Regions from separate parts of the Homo sapiens genome. Here regions 1 and 2 are each linked to region 3. The links are contacts of gene promoters, found by promoter capture Hi-C in human tissues and cell types (Jung and others, 2019). All regions are on one chromosome and are shown on one strand. The core of a region is centred on a gene start or on the middle of the fragment in contact, and the rest is flanking DNA. Distances in the headings are between cores, read along the strand shown. Region 1 overlaps RNF220 (ring finger protein 220). Region 2 overlaps IPO13 (importin 13). Region 3 holds the start of ERMAP (erythroblast membrane associated protein (Scianna blood group)).

Region 1 (2,721 bases), core at 55-2,554, 1.8 Mb before region 3:
GAGCACCTGGGGAGGAGACTGGTGCTAACTAAGCCAGTGAGTAAGTCCACTCTTTGGCTGCAGCTGGTGCAAGGTCTACCCATACCTTTCTATTTGCAGTGTTTAATAAAAATCCAGTGAGCAAAGACACTCCATGTTGCTAGGTATCTCTCCAGAAGGCCAAGACCATGAACTCTTTTGGTGTCAGGAAATACAACTCTAAAGAGCATCTCTTGACTAGAACCTAACCCCTCCGATGGCCTGACTTGGCCTGCTGTTCACTCATCAGCTAAATCCTCTTTGGTTCCTGGGCCAAGAGCCCTGAGGTACAGCTCCTAGCATCCCACCTAGAATCTTATCAGGAAGAATTTCTCTGAGGTCCACTAATCCCATTTCACAGAAGAGGAGACTGAGGCCCAGTCATAAAGGTAAGACGGTCTGGGTCAGACCTTTGGCAGCCAGGTCAGAAGGCTCAGGGAACCCTGAGAAGGCAGCCCTTATTGTGCCCACCCGAACCTGTTCCATCATTTCTAATCAGTACAGAGGGGCTGGCAGGCCCTGGAGGCAGAGGGCTGCCTGCCATGTTGTCCCACAGGGGGCTCAGTTCCAAAGTGCACACTGCAAGCCCACAACACTGCTAATTAATGCTGAGCAATGCAATCATTTCTAATTAGCTCACTAATCCCTCTCTGTAGCCCTCCTGTCACTGAAGCAGGAAGGGGTCAAAACAAGAAACTCTCTTCCCTCTAGTCCCTTCCAGAATGCCACAGCAGGATCAGAGATGGCTACTCTGGGACCAGACTGATGGGGAGTGGGGAGAGCCAGCAAAGGAGGGAAAGGTTCCCCAAAGCAGGGCCAGGAAGAACTTTCTCATGGACAGTGACCCTAACGGGAAGCTCATGAATGCAATCTAGGAGGGGAACACAGGTGAGAGCTGCTATGTTACAATTTAAGCTTCTACCGTGTGTCAGGCTCACAGCCAAGTACCTTACCCAAGGTAGCTCATTTACTACCACTTGCTGAAGCTAGATTGCATTATCCCATTTTAACAGATGAAGAAACCCAAAGCTTAGAGAGATCAAGGTACGTGTCCAAGTAGCTAAAAAGTGGCAAAGGCAAGATAGGAAACCAGAACTGACTTCACAACCTAGAATGCCCTCCTGTTTCAAGGGGACCTCCTAACTGAGCAGCATCAACAAAGACTGGTCCCAGTGAGTGTGCTAGGGCTCCAGCTCCTGCCTGTTGTGAGCCTGAGGCAGGGAGCTACTCCAACTCCAAAACAGAGCAACCCCAGAAAGACCCAAACCAAAAGGAAAGCTACCATCCTGCCAGAACTGGGCATGGAGTTTGAGGAAACTTGGTCTGTAGCCCAGTCCATCTCTTCACTTTCCTGTGTCTTCACTATAGGTGACATGACTGTGTCCTAGTGCCTCACTTGACTTTGTGGACACAGATCGAGAACTCTTCATTTTGGCTGCCCTAACTCTTGGAATCTCAGACTTAGGTAGCCTTGACACTCTAGAGCCAGGGCTGGGATGGAGAATGGACGTGAAACATCAGAAAGGCATTGAGCAAAGGACCCTGAGAGTTCTAGAAGTGTAGTAAGGAGCAGTGTGCCAACACAAAGCTTCCTCCCTACCATGCCTACACCAAGGGAATGCCTCCCTGGGGAAGAAGGTGCTGATGATACCACAATGTTCAATGACTAAGGAAACGAATCTCATGGAATGGTCAAGAAAGGCACAATACTGGATGCGCTCCTTGCTCAGGACACACAGGCCAGCAGATGATCCCTTGTTGTCCCTGGAAAGCACCCCAATGGACTGGGCTTCATCTGCAAATTCTCAGAGAAGGAAGGCAGGTTTGGTTTTCACCTTCCCATTCATCTTCTAAATCCTGAATTAAGCTTACCAAAGTGTGGTAGGGAAAGTTCTGTTCTCTATCCAGAGGCTACGTACGAGTAGGAAGAATCAAAGCATTTGCCAAGGAGGTAGCATGGCATGGTTGGAGAAACACGGGCTTTGGTGGGAAACAAACTTCAATTGAATCATGGCTCAGTTACATCCCAGCTGTGTACTTTTAAACAAACCACTTTCACCTCTCAGAGCCTGTTTTCTTATTCACAAAAGGTGTGTAATACTCTTCTCAGAGGCGTTGTGAGAATGGTGCTTAACATGGCGCCAGCCCATCATGAATTTCTCCCTTTTCCAGACTAGGGCTCAGCCTGGCAGCAGAAACCAAGTGATAAGAGCTGGGGATCTTGAACTCCATGGCCTCTCTCACTTACCAGCTGACCCAGAGACCCTAAACCCCTTACAGCCACCCCCCAGATACCACACCCCAGTAAGCACAAAAAGCTAGGATCATTCAATTGTATTCAGCAAACAGGAATGCTCCAGAGGTTTGAATCCAAAAGGGGGGCTGCTAGGTAGTGCATACACGGCCTGCTTTCAGAGAAGGCCTCTAAGAGCTGTCGAGCCCACGCTGATCACCTTTGTGAAATGTGGGCCGACTGATAACTCAAAGAGCCCTGGGATGAGTTAGTTCCTGTTGCCGTGGGAACTCCAGATCTCACTGTATTGTCAAGTCTCAGCAGAGGGGCTGTATTCACACTACTGGGCACTGATTAAAAACTGGAAGAAAAACATTCTCAGCGCCCTGCAGGTTTGTATAGTGAGGTCCCAGCAGTTTGCAAATTCAAAGCTGAGCTCCCGAGTAGAATTGTGTAGCTCGTTCCTCATT
Region 2 (2,700 bases), core at 153-2,652, 1.1 Mb before region 3:
TGGCAACTGCCGTTTACAGAGTATATAGGAACCATGCTAAAAGCTTCACATTCTCTTATTTAATCCTCATACCGAAACAATCTTTTATTTTTTAAAATCAACCCAATATTTTATTTAAAGTTTCAAAAGGCAGTGATTAAGCACATTATCTATGTGTGTGTGTGTATCATATACATATAAATATATGTATGTATACACACACATATATATATAGGAAACCAACTCCTTTTCAAATTTAGCCACTGAACAACTAGGCCCACTTTCTATTGCATGATTCCAGTTCTACTTCTTATGACCAGTACTAAAAGTAAACAGCCTTAATCCATTTAATAGTAACTATGTTTCTCTTTAAAAAAATGAACAGTTGGCCAGGCATGGTGGCTCATACCTGTAATCCCAGCACTTTGGGAGGCGGAGGCAGATGGATCACCTGAGGTTAGGAGTTCAAGACCAGCCTGACCAACATGGCAAAACCCCGTTTCTACTAAAAATACAAAAATTAGCTGGGCGTGGTGATGCACGCCTGTAATCCCAGCTATTCTGGAGGCTGAGGCAAGAGAATCGCTTGAACCCGGGAGGCGGAGGTTGCAGTGAGCCGAGATTGTGCCACTGCACACCAGCCTGGGTGACAGAGTGAGACTCTGTCTCAAAATAAATAAATAAACAATTACCATTAACTGATCACATAAAGTATAAAGGTAGAACATATACACACAGTTCCCATTTTAAAACATGTAACGTATCAATAACCCAAAGGTACAAATGCATGCTACTGACCATCCCAACCCTAGCAGAGACCACAAAAGAACTCCCATTACTCAAGGAGTCAAAATATTCTCTACCGAACACCAGGGGCAGGACTTGTGCACATTATCCTGTTTAAACCTTTTCAACTCTGTGGGGTTGATATGATCATCCCCATTTTATTGATGAGGAAACGGAGCCTTAGGAATGGCTGATCCAAGATTTCAGATCTAATAAGTGAACCATCTGGGATTCAAACTTAGATGTGACTAATGCCAAGGCTTGAGTCATCAGCCACTCTTCCATGAAGTCTCTTTCAATGGTTTTCCCTTCCAATTCTGCCAAAGGTCCCAAAGCCCCATCTCTGAAATGTCAGCATCAGGACCTCCAGTCTCACTTCTTCTAATCCAGCTCATACCAAAAGTCTCAGTAGGCCATTTTCTCTGCTTATAATCCTTTAATATCTTTATATCGTCTTCAGGATGAAGATCAAAATCTTAAACTTGGCCAAGGTCCTGCATGATCTGGGCCCAGGTCTCCTATACCTCTGGCCCTTAAATCTTGCTGTCTAATCACATCTAATGATTTACAGATCACCAGACCCTCTGGGCTTTCACCCTTCCCTTGCTTGGGCTGGAATGTCCTCCCCATCCATCACTTCCATCTGGCTAACTCTTACACAGCTGGGTTGTCACTTCCTCTGCGAATCCTTTCACAGCCCTCAGACTCAGTGAAAGCCTCCTCTGGGTTCTTCAAGGCCCCTGCGTTCTCCATCAGAGGATTCATCATGTTGATTGTACTTGCCACTCATGTGTCCACTAGACTGTGAGCTCCTGAGACTGAAGCTAAAGCATTTGTCTCTGTGCTCCCAGAGCTCAGCACAGGGCCCAAAACAGGACATGCTCAATGAACATTTGCCAAACACTTCACTACACTCACTTCTTTAGGGCCCTTGAATATATCATGATGCTGCCCACAAGTCTTTGCACATGCTGTGGTTCCTAAAGCCTAGAACAATCCACCTTCCTCCCCCAATCCCTTCCAGCCCCACCCCTCCCAACTCAGGCAACTCCTACTTTCCTCCATTCACAAAATATCAAATGCTACCATGTGCCGAGCACAATGCGACAAAGTAAAATGACAGAGTCCCTGTCCTCACAGAGGTGAGAGAAATCATGTTATGGGCTAAGAAGGAAAAATACTGGGAGCTCTGAGGTAATATAAGAGAGAAGATCAAACTTAGCCTTAAGAATCCATGGAGGACTTCCCTATGGAAATGAAGTTTAAGCTGAGGCAAGGTGTCAAGTATATGTAATGAGCCAGAGGCTGAAAGGAACATGGGACATTCAAGGAATTAAAGAAACTGTGTGAGCGTGTAGAGAGCAAGGAGAGTAGCATGAGATGAGGCCAGTGATGCCATACTGTGCAGCACCATTATGAGTCACATTAAGGATTCTGAGCTTTAACCTAAGAGCATTGAGAAGCCACTGAAAGCTTCTGATCAGAAAGATTAGATCCCCATTTTCAAAAGATCACTGTGGCTGCTGGGACAATGAAGGGTACAAGAGTGAGGACAAGCTCTACAGTAATCTGGGGAGAGAGATGATGACAGCTTGGACTAAGGTGGTAGCAATGGAAATGGAAAAAAATAGATTTGCAATATGGTCAGGAGGGGAACAGCCAGGACTTGGTGACTAGTTGAGAGAAGGAAAAGAGAGTCAAATATTTTAATTGAATAACTGATAATTAGTTGTTTAATGTCTGCCTCCCTGTCTGAACCATGAGGACAGGGACCATGTCTTCTTTGGTTCCTTGCTGTATCTCCAGCATAGGACCAGGTATCAGTACACATTCAATTAATGTTTATTGAACAGATGGATGGATGGATGTGTGGCTGGCCAAAGAGGTTGTCTTCTGGGTGAGTGGGTACTAGCTCACCTCTGGGCATCAGGCTGT
Region 3 (2,723 bases), core at 70-2,569:
CTTTTTCACCTTACAAACCTAAAATTCTATACCCTTTAAACAATTCCTCTTTTCCCTCTCTCCTAGCCACTGGCAGTCACCATTCTACTTTCTGTTTCTTAGACTTTGATTGCTTTAGATACTTCATATGAATGGAAACATGCAGTATTTGTCTTTTTGGGGCATTGTGCTCACTTTTAAGGCTTTTGATACCTAGTACTAAACTGACCTCCAGAAAGGCTGTTAACGATTTACAGTTTGACTGGAAGCGTGTGTCCATCTGGGCTGAGTTCATTGCTTGCTTAGCATCTATCAGTTGTTTCAATTCTTGCCAGTTTGATAGAGGAACAAATAGTGGACCCAAACAGGGTTTTACTTTGGATAAGGCCATTGTCCTATGAATCCTGGCTGAAATATTTGCTCCAGCACTTAGAAGCTGTGTGACCCGGGACAACTCACTTAACTTTTCAATGCTTCTGTTCCCTTATGTGTAAATGGGGATAATAATATACACGTATACATTATACACACTTATTATGAGGAATTAGTTAATAAATGTGAAGCTGTAAGAACAGTGCCTGGAATATAGTAAGCCCAAATGTAAGGTAGCTATTATCATTTTTGTCAATCCTTGCTAATGTAATACCTGGAAAATTACAGCCAGCTATTTTAATTTACATCTCCTCGGTAATCAGTTGAACGTGAATGTTCTCTGTATTTATACTGGCTATTGGTACTTCTGTCAAGATTTCCTTTTTCAAAGCACTGTGGCAAACGGGATCTCACTTGATCCTCCCAATAAACTCATGAATGAAGAAGGTGGCAATCATCAATCCCCACTTTTCGAATTAAGAAATTGAGCCTCGGAATTCGAATTCTGAGCAATTCCAATTCCAGGATTCGGATCTCACCCTCTAAAACCTAGTAGCTGTTGCAGAAAATATAACGGGAAAAAGCTTTGGTTAGCCGTAACCACCACCCACCCCGGTGTGGCTCCGCCCCTGCCCCGCCCCGGCACCGGCTTGCCCCGCCCCGCCCTCTACGCGGGTTTCCAGCCATCCTCTCTGCGCACGCGCGGCCGCTCCTGCGGGCGGAAGCCTCCTGGCGCTCGGCCCTGCGCCCCTCCCCCCGGCGCGCGGCCCCGCCCAGGACGAGGGGCGGTGGGCAGGCAGCGCTGGGTCCAGTGGTCGGGGGAAGGCGAGGATTACCCTCCCGGAGGCGTTGTCTGCGACTCGGCGGAGGCTCCAACTTCCAGTGGCCCGGTCGGGAAAGGTACAGACTCCCAAGCCTCTTGGTCGGCGGCTCCAGCGACCGCCATTTTCCTCCAGGAGAGGGAAGAGGGCAGGAGGCGGGGGCCGTCCCCTGGGGCCGGGCGGGCCGGGGCGGGGTCGGGGGGCCGGGCGGTGGGGGGCGGGCCCGGCTGGCTATGGGGCCCGGCCCCCTGGCCCCAGGAGCGGCTGCTGCGGCGGAGTTAGGCCGGCCGCAGTGGGAAAACCCTGGGCGCCCTCTGGGTCTCAGCGTCCCATTAGGACGGTTCCGCGCTGGGTGCCGCACGCCGCACAGTGGGCAACGCTTTCACAGGGGTCTTTGCATTTCACCCGCACACAGCAGCTCCTGGAGGGAGGCCAGGAAAACACTTAACCCATTTTGCAGACAGAAAACTAAGGCTCAAAGTGGGGAGGAGACTTGCCCAGGGACACCCAGCGAGGTTGTGGCCTTGGGACTCGGTTCCTACTCCCCCACATCCAGCGCCCTTGCCACCAGACCACTCTGCCTCACCTGGCAAAGGATGGGGCGGAGCTAAAGGATTAGAGGAGTAACTGGCAGGGTATTTTTTGTTTTGTTTTGTTTTGAAGATCTGCCTCTTTCTGTACCACCCAGATCAGAGCCTCCTAAGAAATATCCAGAAGTCAAGCCATGGATCCACCTGCACGTAAAGAAAAAACCAAAGTTAAAGAATCTGTCAGCAGAGTTGAGAAGGCCAAACAGAAATCAGCCCAGCAGGAGCTGAAGCAGAGACAAAGAGCAGAGGTGAGATTAAGGCGGAGGCTCTGTATGCCTGTAGTCTGCTGGAGATGATGCTGGAATAGAGAAACAGCAGAAAGGAGAACTGACAGCGAGCCATACTTGCCTCCAGGCAGGATGGGTGTTCTCCCAGGTTTAGAGGGGACAACACTGAGGTTCAGAATGGTGAGGTGGCAGCCCAGAATCACATGCCAAGTTAGTGTCAGAACCCCAGTCTGGTGCGGAGCTTTTGTGGTAAGAGACCCAAGGGAAGGAAGAAAGGAAAAAAAATGATATGTAAGGGGAAAGAAGGGGTCAGAATGAGAGAGAGCACGCAAGTGTCAGACACCCCCAGTACAGATGTTCTGGATTTGGTGCGGAAAGCAGCTACTCATGCCAGGTAGAGGCCCAAGCTTTAAACTCACCAGTGTGTTCCTTTGTTCTCTCAACGATTACAATCAACTTGAGAATAAAAAGCTTTAAACTTTACCCTGCCAATATTGAGCCACATACAGACATAAGTATTTTATTTTAGTATTTAATGTCAGGGAAAATCTTGCTGGTCTCTTTTTCCCTCTTTGTTTTGTTTATCTGTCTGCTTTGTTCATTTCCTGTCTTACATCCTTTTACTTCTCCATGGACAACTACTTTTTTTTATACTTTTACATTCAAATATATTAATAGATATCCTTGAACAATATACAGTAGTATTTTAAATTTTTACATTAATAAAATTCCTG

Evidence for each region. The method cuts DNA at HindIII sites, captures the fragments that hold promoters and counts their contacts. A contact is called where the count stands out against the background at its distance.
Region 1: a fragment that was not itself captured here is called in contact with the fragment with the promoter of ERMAP in region 3 in 1 of the 25 tissues and cell types used here (mesenchymal stem cells).
Region 2: a contact is called between a fragment that was not itself captured here and the fragment with the promoter of ERMAP in region 3, in 1 of the 25 tissues and cell types used here (hippocampus).

The regions. Positions count from the first base shown.
Region 1 is chr1:44,632,646-44,635,366 of GRCh38, reverse strand. The region is part of intron 6 of RNF220 (ring finger protein 220); the gene reads right to left. LOC107984950 (a long non-coding RNA gene) reads left to right here. Exons shown (of 2, transcript XR_001738031.2): 2 at 1-129. Among named protein-coding and RNA genes, the nearest start is that of SNORD145, 37 kb to the left of the region's middle. RefSeq lists enhancers at 2,054-2,601, 2,671-2,721. The HindIII fragment of the contact is 4,886 bases long and covers 1-2,721 here.
Region 2 is chr1:43,950,136-43,952,835 of GRCh38, reverse strand. IPO13 (importin 13) reads right to left here. Exons shown (of 20, transcript NM_014652.4): 2 at 2,683-2,700. Among named protein-coding and RNA genes, the nearest start is that of IPO13, 4.5 kb to the right of the region's middle. The HindIII fragment of the contact is 3,680 bases long and covers 1-2,700 here.
Region 3 is chr1:42,815,718-42,818,440 of GRCh38, reverse strand. ERMAP (erythroblast membrane associated protein (Scianna blood group)) reads right to left here and starts at 1,319. Exons shown (of 12, transcript NM_001017922.2): 1 at 1,188-1,319. It overlaps SVBP (small vasohibin binding protein), which reads left to right and starts at 1,044. Exons shown (of 3, transcript NM_199342.4): 1 at 1,044-1,251; 2 at 1,861-2,010. The coding sequence starts at 1,897. RefSeq lists silencers at 901-1,190, 1,341-1,540, 2,101-2,170. The HindIII fragment of the contact is 4,586 bases long and covers 1-2,692 here.